Linked DNA regions of Homo sapiens: regions 2, 3, 4, 5 and 6 are each linked to region 1. Evidence: promoter capture Hi-C in 16 types of primary human blood cells and fetal thymus (Javierre and others, 2016). All regions are on one chromosome and are shown on one strand. Each heading gives the region's core, a stretch centred on a gene start or on the middle of the fragment in contact. The rest is flanking DNA. Distances are from core to core; before and after follow the strand shown. Region 1 holds the start of TMEM196 (transmembrane protein 196). Region 2 overlaps LOC101927769 (a long non-coding RNA gene). Region 3 has its middle 110 kb from the start of ABCB5. Region 4 has its middle 57 kb from the start of ABCB5. Region 5 overlaps ITGB8 (integrin subunit beta 8). Region 6 has its middle 43 kb from the start of ITGB8.

Region 1 (2,700 bases), core at 147-2,646:
TCCATTAATCAATTCATTTAATATTACAACTTGTTGTCTTCCTAACAGAGAAGCATTTTTTTCCTAAAGAAAAGAAGTGACTAAACACAAAGCAAAACTTCAACAACATATATGCTGTATTATTTATGCATATAAATTGGATCATTTAGATGACTTCTGTATTATTTAAATTAAATAAACTTTACATCATTAAAGCCATACACTAATGAGGTACTTTAGCATGTCTTTGAGGATTTAAAAGCATAGAAATGAATCCACTAATTATCATTCAGTACCAATGTTTATTTGTACTCCAAATATCACAATAACTGAAGCTCTTTAAGGCCTAACAAATTGTAACTCTTCTTCCTTACATTTGTTTTATTTTTAAGAGAAAAGGATTCAAATTTTTAAATTATAGAATATAAACATATGAAAAAAATTATAGTGTAGAATTGAGTTTAAACTCTAAAAGAAGCCCTTAATCAAATTTAAGAAAACTGAAACTGGCATTTATGTTACAGAACTTATGCTATAGGTCACCGAGCTTTTATGTTCTCATCATGGGAGCTTTAAGAAGCCTCTAATAGAGGCGCCTGCACTGCACTGATGTATAGAAGTCAACATTCCCTAGTCTTGTGTTATTGTACCCTAACCTCATCTTCCTTTGTTCTATTTTCCTTCAGTCCATGTCGAACTGGAGAACCCAGTTTTTGAGAAAGATGACCCACACCCAAAACCCTCTCTTTATCCCACTTCCTAGATCTCCTTGATAGAATACCTTGAGATTTTTCATAAAACTAGAGTAATGAAAATGGGGTCTAAACACAGCGATCCCTAGACATCTAGAGTCTCATAGGCATCAAAAGACAATGCAAAAATATCCCAGGCCAAGCTGGACTGGCCCCTGCCCTAAAGATTCTGATGAAAGTAGACTGTCAAAAATAATTGTGCATTAAGCCAGACGTGTTTTTTTTTTAAATAATGCCTGTTCTAATGCATACACATCTCTTGAATTTTGTTGAGAATATATAATCCCAGCTCAGTTGGGTCTAGCTATGCCTCCCAGAACGTGTGGTCACGCTCCTAGGGGAAAGCAAGGGTCTGTGGCTGGAGAGGAACAAAATCACCGTGGAGGTGTGGCCCCCATCAACTGCTTCTTCGCCCTACGACACGGAAGGTGACAGGCTGTGATGGCCGGGAGTGGACATTCCTTGTAAGCAGGCTTGAATCTAGCTCTCCTAGACAGGGGAGTTCCTTGGTGAGGGGCCTTGAGAGTCCTAGTGACATTAGGAGTCTGGCTTTTTCCACCCCCCTGGGGTTTCCGTCTTTCTTTGCTCACTGCTCCCCCTACCCCGCGTACAAGCTAAAGAAAGTTTTTCTCAGAATGAGCCCGCGTTGACGTAGGCATCGCCTCCCCTCTCCGCTGGATAGAAGCCCAGAAAGGAGCCACGGGGAGAAGCGGAGGTAGGGGTCGCCTGGATTTCTGTTGCTGCGGTCCGGGGGCGGGGCGGATCAAAGGCCAGCCAAGAGTACTGGTCCTGGATCTACAAATACATTAGGCTTTTTCCTCCTCCGTCAACCTCCTAAACCCCAATGAGGTCATAGCAATGAAAGAGAATCAGCTCGAGAGAAAGGAGGAGGAAGAGGACGACGACGAGGGAGAAGAAACCCAGACGGAAAGAGGCCATCAGACAAGGTCGCTTTTTCTGGCGACAAAGCAACTGCAAGGAGCGTGGTGCTGAATATCATCCGCCCGCTCTGCCTGGGGACCCAGAGACTTGCAGAAGCACTTCGCATTGCCACGAAAACAAAGGAGAGGTGACGAACGGGAGAGGGAGAGAGAAACTCGGAGCGGTTCCCTTTGGATCTCCGGGAAGCAAAGCTCCTCTCCTCGGCAATAAAACAGAAGGGACCCTGTGAAAGGGTCTAGTAGGCTGAGGAGGGCGCGGGTTTCCCTGCGGAGATTTGGGACGCGGCAGAACTCTGGACAGCGCCTGGGGAGCAAGGCTCGGAGCTCCCTGGGCTCCTCCAGGTTTTCCGCTGCTTAAAAGCCCCGGTACCGGTGTGCAATCTTCGCACCACCGAACCCAGGAAGATCCTTCTACGATCCCTATCTGAACGTGCCAGGGGGTGGAGCAGCTCCTTTGCCTCTGGCCCAGCCAGGGAAGGTCTTCGTTTCTGGAAATCCAGCCCTTGTGGATAATGCCTCGCTCTTGAAGAAAGAAAAGTTTTGGGATCTGGTAGGGGGTGGAAGGGGTAAGGAGGATAGTGGAAGAAAAAAAGGTAGATGGTTGATTTCCCTCTCTGATCTGGAAGGAAGATGACCGAGGAAGGATGTGCACCAGCGGTCAGATTATTGGGAGCCTCTTGGTGCTCTCCGTGCTGGAGATAGGGCTGGGGGTGTCCAGCGTGGCCGTGGGGGCGGTCAGCTTCAGCCTGGCCCTCCGAGAGCACAAGCCGCAGCTCGGAGACTCGTCCCCGGTATGGAGCGGGGTGTGTGTACGTTGAGCCATTTCACTCTCTCTTTACCTCTTTACGGTGATGGTCAGGGTGCGCGCATTAGTCACTCCCTCCCTGGGAAACAAAATCATAGATCTCTGGCTTGCATGTAGGTTCATGCTGACAAGCTATGCTTCTTTATATTGTCCTTTATTCGTTTTCTGTTTTGTTTTGTTTTGTTTTGTTTTGTTTCTTACTTGGGCTTAAGACCAAATTAAA
Region 2 (2,739 bases), core at 205-2,704, 530 kb before region 1:
ATGTTACATTTTATACATTTACAGAGTAAAGCAATACTTCATTCGACATTATCAAAGCAGAAATTTTTTTTCCATCTGATGAGCAAACTCATGGCATAGTTTCAGTGGGAATTGCAAAATGAATCCCACTATATATGAAGCCCCACACATAGGTTGAGAAGGGCTCCCTGGCAGTGCTCAACCTACATGATTGTGTGTGTTGGCTCTATAATCATAGCAATAAAAAAAAGAAGACACAGATAGTTTCTCTCAACTAAAATTTTGTATAATAGTGGTTAGTTTTTAAGTCAACTACACAGTCCCCCAGAAAACCTGGAGTCTTTAATCAAGGTAAAAACTTTTAAATGCAAAATCAGTAACCTAAGAAAAACTCAAAGAACTGATTTTCTTGTAGGTAAAATTTACCAAATCTGTTAAGTGCTATGAAACCAGTATATATTATGGTGTGTCAGTGTTGTTTTCATAAACTTACAAGACCTAAAACTTACAAACAATTCTAAAATAGTAGGTGAGTGTGTCTTCTTAGTACTTAATAAATGTAATATGAATTAAAATTTAACTTCAAATATGCCAAAAGCGTAAAGAGTCAGCCACTATGCAAAAGGACTTAGTATACATGTATATAGCCATGAAGAATTCAGATATTAGAATTTATATCTCTTTAGTTCAAAGCAATGCATTTCAATCTTAGTGGGCCATTTACTTTCACGTGCAATATACTATTGCACACTTTTGAAAATGAGATGAAAGTCAATAAAAGAAAGATGAACATCCAATTCCCAAAACTTAAAAAAAAATCAATTCAAAGTGTATGCCTATTTGATGATAGGAGGTTAGAGAAAACCTCCGTATTGTGAAAGCTTTCATTATTTGATTTTTCGTATGTAATAAGCAGTATAAAATGATGGACATGCCTCCTGTCTCCAATACCACACAAAAGTAAGTAAGAGAAAAAACCTTTCTGTTCCATCTCCCTACAATAATTGCTTCAGAAACCACAGTTAATCTTGGGATACACCATTATTCTGCTGCTTGCTAGTGGACCATACAATGTGAGAAAGTTATTTTTATCTTGAGTGGCAACAATTCAGCAGGATAGACTTGCCAATTTGAGTCCCACTCTTCACTATTTCATTGGGGTGAATGATGTCTGATGTAGACAAGTATAGAAGTTGGCAGATCTCATTGATTTTATTCCCTGTGAATCTACAAATGGGACAGATATTTATTTATTTATTTATTTATTTATTTTTAAAGGCAGTCTATTTAGAATGCTGTTTTCTAAGGCAACTTTTTTTCACATTTTACTATATTAAAGAAATACTCAAAATCGCTTTAATCATAATCCTTTGCACGAAGTCAGTGGGACTGGGATTTAAACAACTATTGAAAAATAATACACAGAAGGAGTGAGAAAAGAATGTCATCCAGCAACAATACATTTTTTTTTTTAAGTTGGAGCAAAATGCCGAACTTCTAATAGAGGGGCTGCAAAGAGAAGAAGAAAAGGCGGTCAGAAAGAATATAAACTAAAGGTAAATAAGAAGAATGAAAGTCGGGACAATACAAAAATGGCTAAAGATTGAAGTGGGAAGAGTGTAATGCACAAAAGTGAAGCCGGAGAAAAAAATGATGAAATGTAGAACAGGAACAGCGGCACAGAATGGAAAAAAAGGAGGTCAGAAAAGCACAAAGAGGGCTGAAGAACAGCAAACAAAGAAGTAGTATCAAATGGAAAGGGAGCAAGTGTCTAGATTATAAAGTGGGGGGAGAAAACATCAACATTCGGGAGGGAGGGCGGCAGCAGAGTGAAGAGCCAGAGCCACGGGAGGAGCCCAGTCATTTTGCTTTGTCTTCTACAAGTGGAGTTTATGCCACTTGACTGGAGCTTGCAAATGGATGTGAATTATTTTACTGGCATTCAAAGTCCTGCTGTAACGTTGTTAGGAATTTGGCATGGTAGTGTCAGCCTTAACAAAGGCTATCAACTTTCCTCACGTTAAACCAAAGCAGCTAAATTTACATCCTTTTGCAGCTTTCAAGCTTTTTTCAAATGGCATAAACTGGCAATAGCTAGGCTTGAAAAATTCTGGGCATTAAAGAAAGCAAAGAATCTGTTTTCATTAAAGATAATCTTATGATCATTTGCTCACATTCTTATTGCTTTAGTTTATAGTTTTTTTAAGAAATCAAGTTTACTTGAATTTAGATGGTTTTATGAAAATTCTAAAAATTCTTGAAATATGGAAATACAGTTTGCAACTACAAGGACCAAATTGCTAAGATAAACTATCAAATCACCATTAAAAAGGGCCCTTTGTCTAAGTAGTTACTTTTAAAATTGCTTTTGAGAAAAAAAAAAAAAAGGTCTCCTTAAAGTTGCAAATAATGACACCAAGAATGATTTGTTACATAGCAGGTCAAAGTAAATCAGTAGTTTCTTAACTTTGAACTGGAACTAGAAACCTAGATATATTTTCTGTTCTTCTGTTTTCTCCTTCTCCTCCTTAATAGCCTCTGAGCAAATTATCTACTGAGTGAAGTTTTATATCTTCAAGTTCAGCTCTGGTTAGGTGTTCACTTTGTTTCTCCATGGGAACAAACACGTTACCATGGGAACTGGGTAGCACAAACTATAAACAGTACTGAAAGCTTTTAGAAAGAACCACGCTTATAGCACAATGTTAACTATACAATGCAAGTGCTAGCTGGCCATTCCAATACCTAGCATATTATGGC
Region 3 (2,972 bases), core at 454-2,953, 730 kb before region 1:
TGTAGCACCTATTATAATTAAATATCTACTTCTTAATTAATTATGATGAGACTCTGTATTCTTGGCTATAAACATAGAGATTTTGCCTATCTTGTTTGTCACTGATTTCCATATTTTGCTTATAAATATTGAAATTCAATAAACATTGTTTGGATGAACAAATGCATGAATACTTTTCCATAGTTTATGAAAAATGCAAAACTGTTGTATATACCTTTTTAACTTACTATCAAAACTACATATAAACTAGCATGGGAGAAAAATAATTTTGAACTTTTTTCTGGTGTGGTATATATTTCTGTAGTGTTCTATGTATACAGGAGATTTTTAACAAAAGATGTGACTTGTATTTAACATCTTACTCATTTCCTGGCTGTTACAAGGATAGATTGAATGATTACTTCTTGTAAAGTCACAGTATAGCATTATGCTTGCCAGGTGGGTATTTTCAAGGGCAGGGCTGTGATTAAATGTACTTTAGTTGTTCTTATTGTGACTTTCTGAATTCTTCATCATTGTGTTATGTACCTCCAGATCTAGTAGGTAGCAGAGGACCTTTGGGGAAAAAAGCCATTCCGATTCATCTCTTACCACCAAATATCCCCATGCCTCACCTACTCCAGAAGAATATTTGTACCTACAAATCAGCTGAAGAAAGGGAGGGCTGCAAGTTTCATCCACTCCATGGCTTCCACTTCCAACGCGCACACACACACACACTTACACCCCACACATGCTAATGACTTCTCGGTCTTTTTTCCCAGTCCTTTTTTCCCAGCCTTCTCTTTGGCTCCAGATCCACATTCCAAGTGCCTTTTTCCGTCCTCTCCTAAAATCACACCTGTTAAACTTCTCATATTTTTAACAGATCACCACCTATCTAGTTTCCCAAACCAAAAATGTTCATTTTAAACTTAAATTCTCTCTCATTCTGTATCTAACCAGCCATCATATCTTTTCAACTCTTAACTACAAAATATTTCATTAACCTCACTTCAACATTTTCTCCTCATTTTTATTCCACTGGGTCAGGTCTGAAAACTCCACTAATGCAATTTTCTGTGGTCTTTCTCTCCCTTTTTTTTTTTAATCTTCAAAACTATCTGTTTTCTGGGCCACCTACGAAGATAAGATTTATATCACTTTGTTGCTCAATAATACTGATTGTACCTTAAGCTTCTCTTTGTTCACTCTTTAGTTTTGTATAATAAGTTCTTTAAAGTATGAACTATCTGAACTCTTTCTAATACTCTATTTATCCAAACATATCACCCGCTATCTCATATCTTACCCCAAAACCCTATGTTCTAGGTTTTAGATGTTATCAATTATCCCTTGCTTCCTGTGACCTTGTTTCATGATGGAAGCTCTAAGGAGTCCTTTGAAAACTTGCATTTCTGTCCTTATCTGCAAGGCCATTTAATGACTCATTCTTCGCATAGGCCAGACCCCATCTTACCCCATTCACCATTTGGCCTTTCAAGAAATAGTGTTAGGGAGAATTGCACTGAAAATACTTGTATTTTGATGTACTTCATTTCCAAGGGGATGTGTTCAATCATTTTTTCAATATCCTCTTGGCCTTTATTGAATACCTACTATGTGCCAGACACTGAATATAGAGATACAGTCCTCTTCATAAAAGTACATAGTCTAGTAGAAGGAATGGATACATTAAAAAATGTAGGAATTAATTATATCCTACCTTCAGTCTAAGTGAATATGTAGTTGTGAATGTCTAGCAAATGAGAAGGGCTGGCTTCTCATAAGAAAGTGAAAATGTGGACCACTTCTCATTTTTCAGCCACTTTTAAATTATTAAGTAAGGGAAATAATATTTCAGGAGTTTCTTTTGGTTAAAGCCCTTACATTTTCGAAACACTTAAAAAAATTTTATATATCATGTTCATAAATAGTTTGTGAAGTTCGCAAAACAAGTCCAAAATTATAAGTGAGATCTAATGAATATGAGTTTTACAGCTTTTATTTTTCCCCTCGGTGTTTCATGCCATAAGTGCTACTGAACAATTAAAATGTTGACCAAAACAAAAGGATAAGAAGCAACAAATTTTTTCACTGGGCCACAAATAGAGGAATCTCTGCTTTATTGCTGAGACAGACTTATAAACAGTGTATATAATTAGCTATTTTGCACATTCACGTGTGTATGCATCAGATGTTCTAGTATGTTTATAAAAATACCTAGTTCAATTATGTTTTTCAAAGCTTAATTAATTCTCTTGGGGTTTATGTCTAAAAATACTGCCCAGTTCTGTCTACAACCATTTGCTTGTTATACCACAGACTAATTTTTATACTATTATTACAACTTGGACTGGCAGCTTGGGGCTAAATGTGCCCATATATATTTGTTTTCTACTAATCTTTTTAAAATTTATTTTTTGAGATACTTTTATCAGCCAGAACCATGATTTCAGTATGGCTCAATTAAAATCTAAATGTGCATTCTAGTTAAAAGTTGCTTATAATTTTTCGGTGTTCAGTTTGTGATTTCAAATTTACTCTTAATGGATAATCAATCCAAGGGCTGGAAGAGACTTTATGGGGTCACTTGGTTCCCCTATTGCCTGAGACGTGTAAAAGCCTGACTTATCTAAGTAGACACTCTCATTTAAATTTCCCTGAAGGTAAAAAAGGCCACAGCCTTGCCTAGGTGAACTACTTAATTACTGTTGTAGTCGATATGGTGTTCTTTTTTAGGTGTATTCAACCTACATTATCCTATTGTTGCAAATTAAGCCAAATTCCTTTTCAATTTTTGGCAGATATTCACTGGGCACTATCTTTCATCAACTTGCAGGCATTAATATAGTGGTCTTCTATTTGCAAGATTAAAAAAAAGAAAGAAAACAAAACCAAAACTTCAGTACCCCTTTCTTACAGAATCCATATTTTTATTTATTTTCTTGGTGCCCTTTTCATTTCTCCATAATTTAAGATGCTAAAAGAGA
Region 4 (2,796 bases), core at 7-2,506, 780 kb before region 1:
GGTCCAGCCGCAGCTTCACAGGGAGCCGACACCTGTGTTGGCGCCTACAGCTGCGTGTCCCTCGGCAGCCAGTGTGCCTGGCTGTGCACAGTGGCCGGACCCCACGTTTGCTCACCCACACACCCCTCGCCACTCTGCATGTGGCTCACCTTTAGCAGGCATGGGATCCGGGCTGGTAGCATGAGGTGAGCGCAGGCTGCCGGGCAGAGTGGGCAGAATGAGCCCAGCAGGCTCAAGCAAAACTCGGGCAAGGACACCACCGGTTACAGAGCTTTTCCCGCTGGAAAAGAAACACCCTAAGAATCCTGTGACATAAGCATCCGATTACTTTTCTTCTTTATTTATAACTGAAAGAGGCAAGTGCAGTGTTTACAGTTTTATGAGTAGTTGCCGTAGGCATCAGTGATTGAAATTGCAAAAGCACAAATATAAAACTTTCCAGGTGTTGCAAATGAAGACCATATGTGAGATAAAGCTGTAATATGATTAGAATACAGGTTAAAGGATGACACTGATTTTTAAAGGCTGCAGTTACAGTGAAATTTTCTTTTAGGTAAATACAGTGATTTCTGACTTTATTTGCTTTTGTGCACCTCTTGTATATCGCACCTTGTATATTTATTTACAATAAGTAATATACTTGGAACTGTCTTACCAACTAGTTTCCAATTTTGTGAAAGTTACTCCAAGCTTTCCTTTTAGGAGTTTGTTCTAGTGTCCCAGATAAAGTTTCCCTGAACTTGATATTTTTCCCCCTCAAACTAAAAACAAAACAAAAACAACAAATGAGCCACTTTTAATTGATATATAATATACAAACAGAAAAGTTTATGCAAATCATTCACGTACACTGAGTGGATTTTCACAAATTGTACATGATACATAACTAGCAACTTAGAGCACCCCTTTATATTTCCTTCTAGATGCTCACAAACTTTTGTATACAAAAGCAAAATTAGCCCACTAGCCTCCTGTTGCATCATTTCAAAGTTTAGAATTTTTACCCTCTTTTAGGAATTGACTACATTTTAAATTAGACTGTATATTATAGCAGAATGAATTTCTCTGCTTATTCTATAAATAGTTGCAATTACACTGACATTCTTCTCAGAGCTAGGTGCATCCACTAGTGCGCAGAATGTTTTTATCAGCTTGAAAACTCTGCCCTTGAACGTGAAGCCTATCTAAGTTTATTTGGTCAGATTAGCTGTTATATATTAAGATTGCATAAAGATTAACCAAGATTAAGTATTTCTTTTGTAGAAACACATAGGTATAAAAGTATATACATTTAGAAGTAAAATCTGGCAACTTCTTTTCCCTCTTTTTCTCTTGAGTCTTTAAATATTTTTATGAAATATTAACTGTTACTCTATATAAGAAGAAAAGTAAGAGTCCAGTAATGGTGTTTCATATTTCATAGTATAAGCAGTTTTTTTTAACTAGGCTTTAGTTGTCTGTCATTAGCTGTTGTACAATAATCCTGCATCTGTATATATTACTATGTATTACTACACACATAACAATATATAATATTGTATGTATATATAATATATAAATAATAAACTTTGTTTATATTTAAAGCATTTTAAAAGAATTGCTAATGTTTTCTTACTGCGTCTTCTTAGAATACCTTAATATACCTTCCTCCAAAAGGTCATCTTTTAATCTCTTAATCTAAAGTACTTAGTTTCTTGGTTTTATTGTTCTCCCTCAGAGCAAGTATCCAGTTCTTTTCCCATATAGTACTTACCATAATGTGTGAGAAAAAAATCTGAACTTACTACTTAATATCAGGCTTCCTCAGTAGACTCAAGCTTGTAGGTTAGAGACCTGATCGTGTTTGTTTTGCCCATGGGTATATTTGTAGTGCTGAAACTATATTAATCATGTGGTACAGATTCAATGATATTTGTTGCATGAATGAATGCTTGAACAATATGATTATGTTTTCTTTTTAAAGGGAACACTGCAACTGTTGAGCCTAGGTAAAATTATGCAAGCTTAATTTTCTGACTTCCCAAGCCTGTTTGCTCCCTGTTCTTTCCCCCTGCTCTGCTCATTTCAGTGTCCTCTTCAAGTCTTTTCTTTGCATGATCAGAGCCATCTGCCTTCTAAGCAGAGCTCAGTTACACTGGATCCCTCACTAACCCTGAGTCTGAACCTTAGGATCCTCTTACTTCCTTCCCTCTGGCTCTGTCTTTAGGCCACATTTAGAGAACCAAGCTTCAGACTTTTCTGCAGACTGGAGCTTCCTATCTGTCATGTGGAGGTAGAGGGTTACAGATGTGGTGCGTGGTCAGAGCCTTTGCTATGAGTAGCTTCATCCATTTCTTCTCAGGATAAAAATACCATGATTTTCTTTTTGTAGCAAGATGTAAGAAAGTTGAGATGCACTGTCATAGGTCTGTTCTCTGTCAGAATAAGCTTGCAAAAATAGCCTGGGACTCAGAGGCTACAGCCTACTCTTAAGCCCTGGCTAGGTGGCTGGAGTGCTATCCTCTGCAGATAGTCCTCTCTGGTGTTAGCTGTTAGCCTTTTCACATAAAAGTTGACCATTGCCATCGGTGGATTTCCTAGCAATGTTCAGCTTGTCTTATGGGATGCCCCATGGATTGCGATCGGATTCCTGCATGTGAACTGCTTACAAAGCATGGTTGCCATACTTCCTTGGCTGCCATATTAGTCATTCCCTTTGAATTCACAGTTCGGTTTCACCTTCCCTAGGTATTTCCAGCCCCAAATTGTGGTCCTCTTAAGTATACCTTTTGGGCAGCAGGGCAGTAATGGGTGATG
Region 5 (2,874 bases), core at 192-2,691, 570 kb before region 1:
TCCTCTTCCTGACTTGAATGATGTATTCCATTAATTACATTATTTTCCCATCTATTCTGATTTAAATCTTTGTGGTCAACCTTGACTCCTCTCTCTACCACAGCCTCAACAACCTGTCAGTCACCAAGACTTTTTGCTTTTAATTTACTGTCTTTAGTATTTCTCACTCCCTATTTCCATTCCCATGGATCCATCCTAGTTGAGGCCTTCCTTATCGATCATTTGCTTTAATGTAACAACGTTCTCAGAATCTCTTACAAACACCATTTACCACTAAAAATCACCACATACATTGTTGCCAGTTTCTTTTGCTGATACAGTGATCACATTACTACCCTACTAAACAATCAAGTCAAAACAAAACAAAACGCCTGGAATTATTTCCACCACCTGAGTAGTAAAGTATCTCAGTCCATTCAGGCTGCCATAACAAAATACCTTAGATTGGGTAATTTACAAATAACAGAATTTATTTCTCGCAGTTTTGGAATCCGGCAAGTCCAAGACAAAGGCAGCAACAGATGTGGTGGTATGGCGAGGGAGCCTTCCTCATAGGTGGCACCTTCTTGCTGTGTCTTCATATGGCAGAAGGGACAGACGAGTTCCCACAGGCCTTTTTCATAAGTGCACTAATACAATTCACCAGGGTCCTATCTTCATGACCTAGTCATTTTCCAAAGGCCCCACCTTTAATGCCATTACATTGATGATTAGATTTCAACACATGAATTTTGGAGAAGCAAAAACATTTAGACCATAGCATAAAGTTCTAACAAATCTACCTGCCATTAACTCCAAGGTGCTCTCCTTTGCTTTTCTCCTAAAGTCCTATGTCATGGTCAATGTACATGCCTCCTCTCTGCCTGTGGAGCCCCCTTCAGGTATAATCGTCAGGTGTTATATACTTCTCAGGCAATCACTTTAATCATCTGGAGTCAAGAGTGTCTTAAGACACCCAGAGAAAGTCCACGTTGCTTTTGGCAGGAAACGGGGTAGAGTCAACGCCTCACTTCAGAACTAAGTCAGGCTTCCTCAGACCTTGTCTCTTCCTTCCCTAAGAATTAAGAGCAAGTCTCAGAACCTCCCCTTGCCCCTCAGCCACTGACAGTATCATCACCACTATCTACCTTGAGATCCCAAAGACTAATCTCACTTATCCCTGTTTATTGCACCAGTTTCTACAAGAAGCCCAAGACTCCCAGATGCACCCTTATTCCCCCAACACATTCTAATCCCTAGAAGGCTCTGCACAGCCCTCTTTTCTCCTTATCTCCTATTCCTTTACAACTCCAGAAACCCATCCCCTGTGCCCTCTGAAATTCATAGTCCATTTCCAGAAGGACTGCCCATATCCCAGTCCCTTATCTGAATGTTCTCTTGTCTTGCTTGAACAGAAACCTGGCTCTCCCCTGAGAACTTGTCTTCCCCTGACCTCATGAGTAATCGCTGATGTTTCTCCCAGAATCCTAACAGCCTTGAGCTTGGAGATGTATAAGTGTCTTCCTGAGTCCTCACTGCTACTCACAGGCACTTCTCCCTCTCTCATCCCCTAATCATCCCACCCCCAGCTTTGACACTTGTAACTTACATTATGTCACCCACCATCCTGAATTGTTGCAGGCATTCACTGACATTTACCAACCACAGGGAGATGCTTTCTCGTTTTTAGAAAATGTTGCCTCCTTGCTTGATATAATTTTCTCCAACAATACTCCTATGTCAATTCCTGACAATTTTTGTATATACACACATCATCTTTGCAATACAAGATGCATCAGCTCCTTATTCTCTTCTCCTCTAATTATTTTGTCCTCCACCTTGATTTAGCTACTTTGCTTCCATGTTAAGAAATTTAGACCTTGTAATTACCAGTAACTGCAACTTCTCTACAATTCCAGTTTCACATATCACCCTGTCTGACCACCACCTCTTGTCTTACAAGCTGATTCACTCTGCCTGGGCTCCAGATACCAACAATCTGCCACTACCAGTCCTTCGATCCTGCTATGCATTAAAAATTTCTCACATTGCTTCATAGCCTCTCATCTCTCTACCCTTTCTCCAGTTATCCACAAGGCTAACTCTCTTACTGTCTTGAGGGCTTGGCTCAAACACTGGTCTTTTTTCATGAGGCTTACCCCATCTAATCTACTTGAAATGGCAACTCTGTCTTCCCCCAACCCTGCTCCACTTTTCCCCATAGCACTTACCACCTTTGAACACACTAGATAATTATGTATAACCATGTTTTTTTTTATTTTGTCTGTCCTCCTCCAAAATATAAGACTTATGAGGACAAGAACTTTTGTCCTTTAGTTTCCTAATGTTTTCATACTTTGAATGGTACTTTCCACACACTTGTTGAAAAATATTTATTAAATAATTAGCACATCTTAGATTTTAAAATTATAGAATTTATTGGATTACAATGTCAATATCCTCCTAGAAAGTTATATATCATTGAGGCAGATGATATATTGTTCATATTTCCCTCCCTGAGGCCCTGGGAATTGGCTCAGCACCTTCTCAGTGAGACCTTCCTAATTATCCTACTTAAGATCATACCTCCTTCTCCAGTATTCTTGACTACCCATCTGGGTTTCTTTCTCTCTACAGAAGGTGCTAGATACTTAGTGCTGTCTGGTGTGCTATACATTCTGTTTCTTTAATTTGTCAAATGTCTTGTCTCTCTCCATTAGAACGAAAGCTCCATGAGAGCAGATCTTTTTGTTTGGTTCCCTGCCATATCCCCGAGGCTTACAGCAATACCAGGCACAGTGTAAGAGTTCAGTATGTATTCACTGAAGGAGAGGATGAATGGGTGTCTCCCCTGCATTGCCCAAAACATCGTATGTGCTCTCTCTCTTTCTGTTT
Region 6 (2,949 bases), core at 121-2,620, 510 kb before region 1:
AAGCGTAGTATTTAATAGGTAGATTTTTTTATCTTTACCCTCCTCCCTCCCTCCACCCTTAAGCAGGCCCTGGTGTCTGTTGTTCTCTTCTTTGTATCCACATGTATTCAGTGTTTGGCTTCCACTTATAAGTGAGAACATGTGGCATTTTATATTCTGTTTCTGTGTTAGTTCACTTAGGATAATGGCCTCCAGCTCCATCCACGCTGCTGCAAAGGACATGATCTCATTGTTTTTTATGGTTGCGTAGTATTCTATGGTGTATATGTACCACATTTTCTTTACTCAGTCTACTATTGATGGGCATTTAGATTGATTCCATGTCTTTGCTATTGTGAAGAGTGCTGAAATTTGCTTTTCAAAACCCTAGCTAGTTCTATAGTCTGTGTCGTGATTGGTTACAACAAATATTTTCCATGGGCAATTATAATTAAATTTGGAGAATGATGGTCGTATATAAATATAAACTGCTGAAAACATAAATATGTTTTTATTTTATTTATTATTATTAATTTTTTATGAGATGGAGTTTTGCTCTTGTTGCCCAGGCTGGAGTGCAATGGCATGATCTTGGCTTACTGCAACCTCCCCCTCCCAGGTTCAAGCGATTCTCCTGCCTCAGTTTCTCTAGTAGCTGGGATTACAGGCAGATGCCATGATGCCCAGCTAATTTTTGTATTTTTAGTAGAGACGGGGTTTCACTATTTTGGTCAGGCTGGTTTCGAACTCCTGACCTCAGGTGATCTGCCCACCTCGGCCTCCCAAAGTGCTGGGATTACAGCATGAGCCACTGTGCCTGGCTGTAATACACTGTTAAAATTGGTGAATAAAAGATCTGTCTTAATGACAAAGGCTTAATTATGCCCTTTCTAGGTCTTATCACATACTTGGGATTCTGAGGATATTTTGAACCTACAAAGAATGTAGCATCCATTCCAAAATGAGTAATAAGAAGAAATAAATGTAGACTTCAAGCATCTATAACTTATTTTTCAACAGATCTCCTTTTGTTTTTGCAAACTTTTGGACTAGTCCCATTGTTATCCGGGCTTGAACTCTTTACTCCTTTCTTTCTTCTCTGGTCTGTGTTGTTTTTAAGCACTCACCAGTGATAGATTTCTAGAAAATAGAATGTACAAAATAAACAAACCACCAGAACCAGCAGCAGCTAAAGAAAAATAAAATACAAATAAGGAAACAATGAAAAGTCAAAGCAAGCACCCAAATTCCAAGCCAAATTCAATCTGCAATAAGAGATACATTTGAACAAAATGTAAAAATCAGTGTATATCCCTCAGACTTTGTCTATCAGGGTGAGAGATTCAGCTCTTCACTTGTTCTAGAAGAGGCACCATGACTTGAGTGACCAGGGAAGGAAGACAAATACTTAATAATTATGTCAGATATTTGATTTCATCTAAGTTACACTGGAAAATCATCTATATGAAGTCCCCCAACATCGTGAGAGACTATGATTCTCACCTATGTGTAATTTGTCTTTTTATCAACAGTTTGGTTGACAGTAGATGTATTGTTATTGATTGTATTCCAAAACTTTATGATCGCTCATGTGTTTTCCATTGTATTAACCCATTTATTCCTAGAGATACAACTTAAGGCTAGGAAAAGCAAATATTAAGTAAACATTGTTTTTTACACAGGAAGAAACAGATTCTTATCTATTACCAGTCTGAGGTTTATATTTAACCAGTTTCATGAGAGGTGTTAACTATTATCTCCCCACCTGCTGCTCTAGTTGATCACATGACCCTACCCTACTATAGTCACAGCTAAATGAATCCACAGGTTGACTAGTTGTCTATGACAGTCAATTGTGACAGACTCTGAGCAGACATTAAAGAAAAGAACAATCACATTTCTTTCTCAGAAATTTGGACTTAAGGTTTTGAGGAACACGGATAATTCAGAATTTAGAGTTAGAACTGATAGGTTAGGTAATATAGAGTGGGCTTGTTGCCATAAAGGAAGGCGATAAAAAATTACATATTGAACATATTCGTAGAGTAAAATAGAAAATAACAAGAAACTATAAAGGCAGTTCTTGAAAGACCTCGGTTTCTCTACTTCTAGTCCCAGGTCACAAAAAGCCAACTATGCTTCATTTTGTGTCTTAGGATTCCTGGGTATTTTAATATTCTCCAATAAACCTCTCTTTTAGCTTTTCTAGTTAGTTTGAGTAGGGTTTTGCTCCTTGCAAACAAAAGAGGCTTCTCAAGAGCAGTGACTTAAATTATTCACTGCCAGTTACAGCATCACTTGCTAAGGGCCCAAAGTGACAAAGACACCAAATATTACTTATTCAAGGAAGCAAGCAATGTTATATAGGCCTATACCTTGATAAATACTGAAGTCAAGTTTTTTGTATAGTTAATGTTGGAGAAGTAGGCACTGTTTTATTTAAAAAAAATATTTAACTAGAGCCAACAATAAAATCAAGCCTAGCTGTTACATAATCCGCAAATGATGTCATACCCTTTCTTGCTCTTTTATTTTCCTCCAATTTTGTCTATAATGAATAATTGGGTCAATTAAGGTGCTGTGAGAATTATTCATCTTTCAATTATATACTCTGTATAATTTATTATGCTTTAGAAAATTGTACATAGTGAGACATACAAAATACGATGGGGATTTTCTAAAATCTGGAAAAGAAAAATTTTCTGCTCTCAAAACAAATACACTATAATGAGACCAGGTAGACAATTTTAGCATAAACATCTAGAAAACATGCCTGTATCACCAATGAGCAAACTGTGGACAAAACCAACAGCACTTCAAATATATAAATAGTGAATTTGTTTACTAATTTAATTTCCTGTCCCTTTCTTGGAATAAATTGGATTAAATCTCTGGATTTTCCCTAAGATTCCTCCACCATGTGTTTAAACGTCTTTTGCTAAAAAATTGCTGGCTATTTTTAAAAGATGT

What was found. The method cuts DNA at HindIII sites, captures the fragments that hold promoters and counts their contacts. A CHiCAGO score of 5 or more calls a contact.
Region 2: a contact is called between a fragment that was not itself captured here and the fragment with the promoter of TMEM196 in region 1, in 2 of 17 cell types (total B cells and naive B cells). The highest score is 8.6, in total B cells.
Region 3: a fragment that was not itself captured here is called in contact with the fragment with the promoter of TMEM196 in region 1 in 1 of 17 cell types (total B cells); the score reaches 6.0 in total B cells.
Region 4: a fragment that was not itself captured here is called in contact with the fragment with the promoter of TMEM196 in region 1 in 7 of 17 cell types (total B cells, naive CD4 T cells, monocytes and 4 more); the score reaches 8.7 in total B cells.
Region 5: a fragment that was not itself captured here is called in contact with the fragment with the promoter of TMEM196 in region 1 in 2 of 17 cell types (total B cells and naive B cells); the score reaches 6.3 in total B cells.
Region 6: a fragment that was not itself captured here is called in contact with the fragment with the promoter of TMEM196 in region 1 in 1 of 17 cell types (naive B cells); the score reaches 5.5 in naive B cells.

The regions. Positions count from the first base shown.
Region 1 is chr7:19,772,313-19,775,012 of GRCh38, reverse strand. TMEM196 (transmembrane protein 196) reads left to right here and starts at 1,396. Exons shown (of 5, transcript NM_001363562.2): 1 at 1,396-2,463. The coding sequence starts at 2,317. All of the region lies in intron 1 of LOC107986774 (a long non-coding RNA gene), which reads right to left. The HindIII fragment of the contact is 8,082 bases long and covers 1-2,700 here.
Region 2 is chr7:20,307,172-20,309,910 of GRCh38, reverse strand. All of the region lies in intron 4 of LOC101927769 (a long non-coding RNA gene), which reads right to left. Among named protein-coding and RNA genes, the nearest start is that of ITGB8, 22 kb to the left of the region's middle. The HindIII fragment of the contact is 1,183 bases long and covers 863-2,045 here.
Region 3 is chr7:20,504,796-20,507,767 of GRCh38, reverse strand. No RefSeq gene overlaps it. Among named protein-coding and RNA genes, the nearest start is that of ABCB5, 110 kb to the left of the region's middle. The HindIII fragment of the contact is 1,050 bases long and covers 1,179-2,228 here.
Region 4 is chr7:20,556,778-20,559,573 of GRCh38, reverse strand. No RefSeq gene overlaps it. Among named protein-coding and RNA genes, the nearest start is that of ABCB5, 57 kb to the left of the region's middle. RefSeq lists an enhancer at 1-92. The HindIII fragment of the contact is 1,127 bases long and covers 693-1,819 here.
Region 5 is chr7:20,344,775-20,347,648 of GRCh38, reverse strand. The region is part of intron 1 of ITGB8 (integrin subunit beta 8); the gene reads right to left. Among named protein-coding and RNA genes, the nearest start is that of ITGB8-AS1, 14 kb to the right of the region's middle. The HindIII fragment of the contact is 3,054 bases long and covers 1-2,874 here.
Region 6 is chr7:20,286,216-20,289,164 of GRCh38, reverse strand. No RefSeq gene overlaps it. Among named protein-coding and RNA genes, the nearest start is that of ITGB8, 43 kb to the left of the region's middle. The HindIII fragment of the contact is 3,649 bases long and covers 1-2,949 here.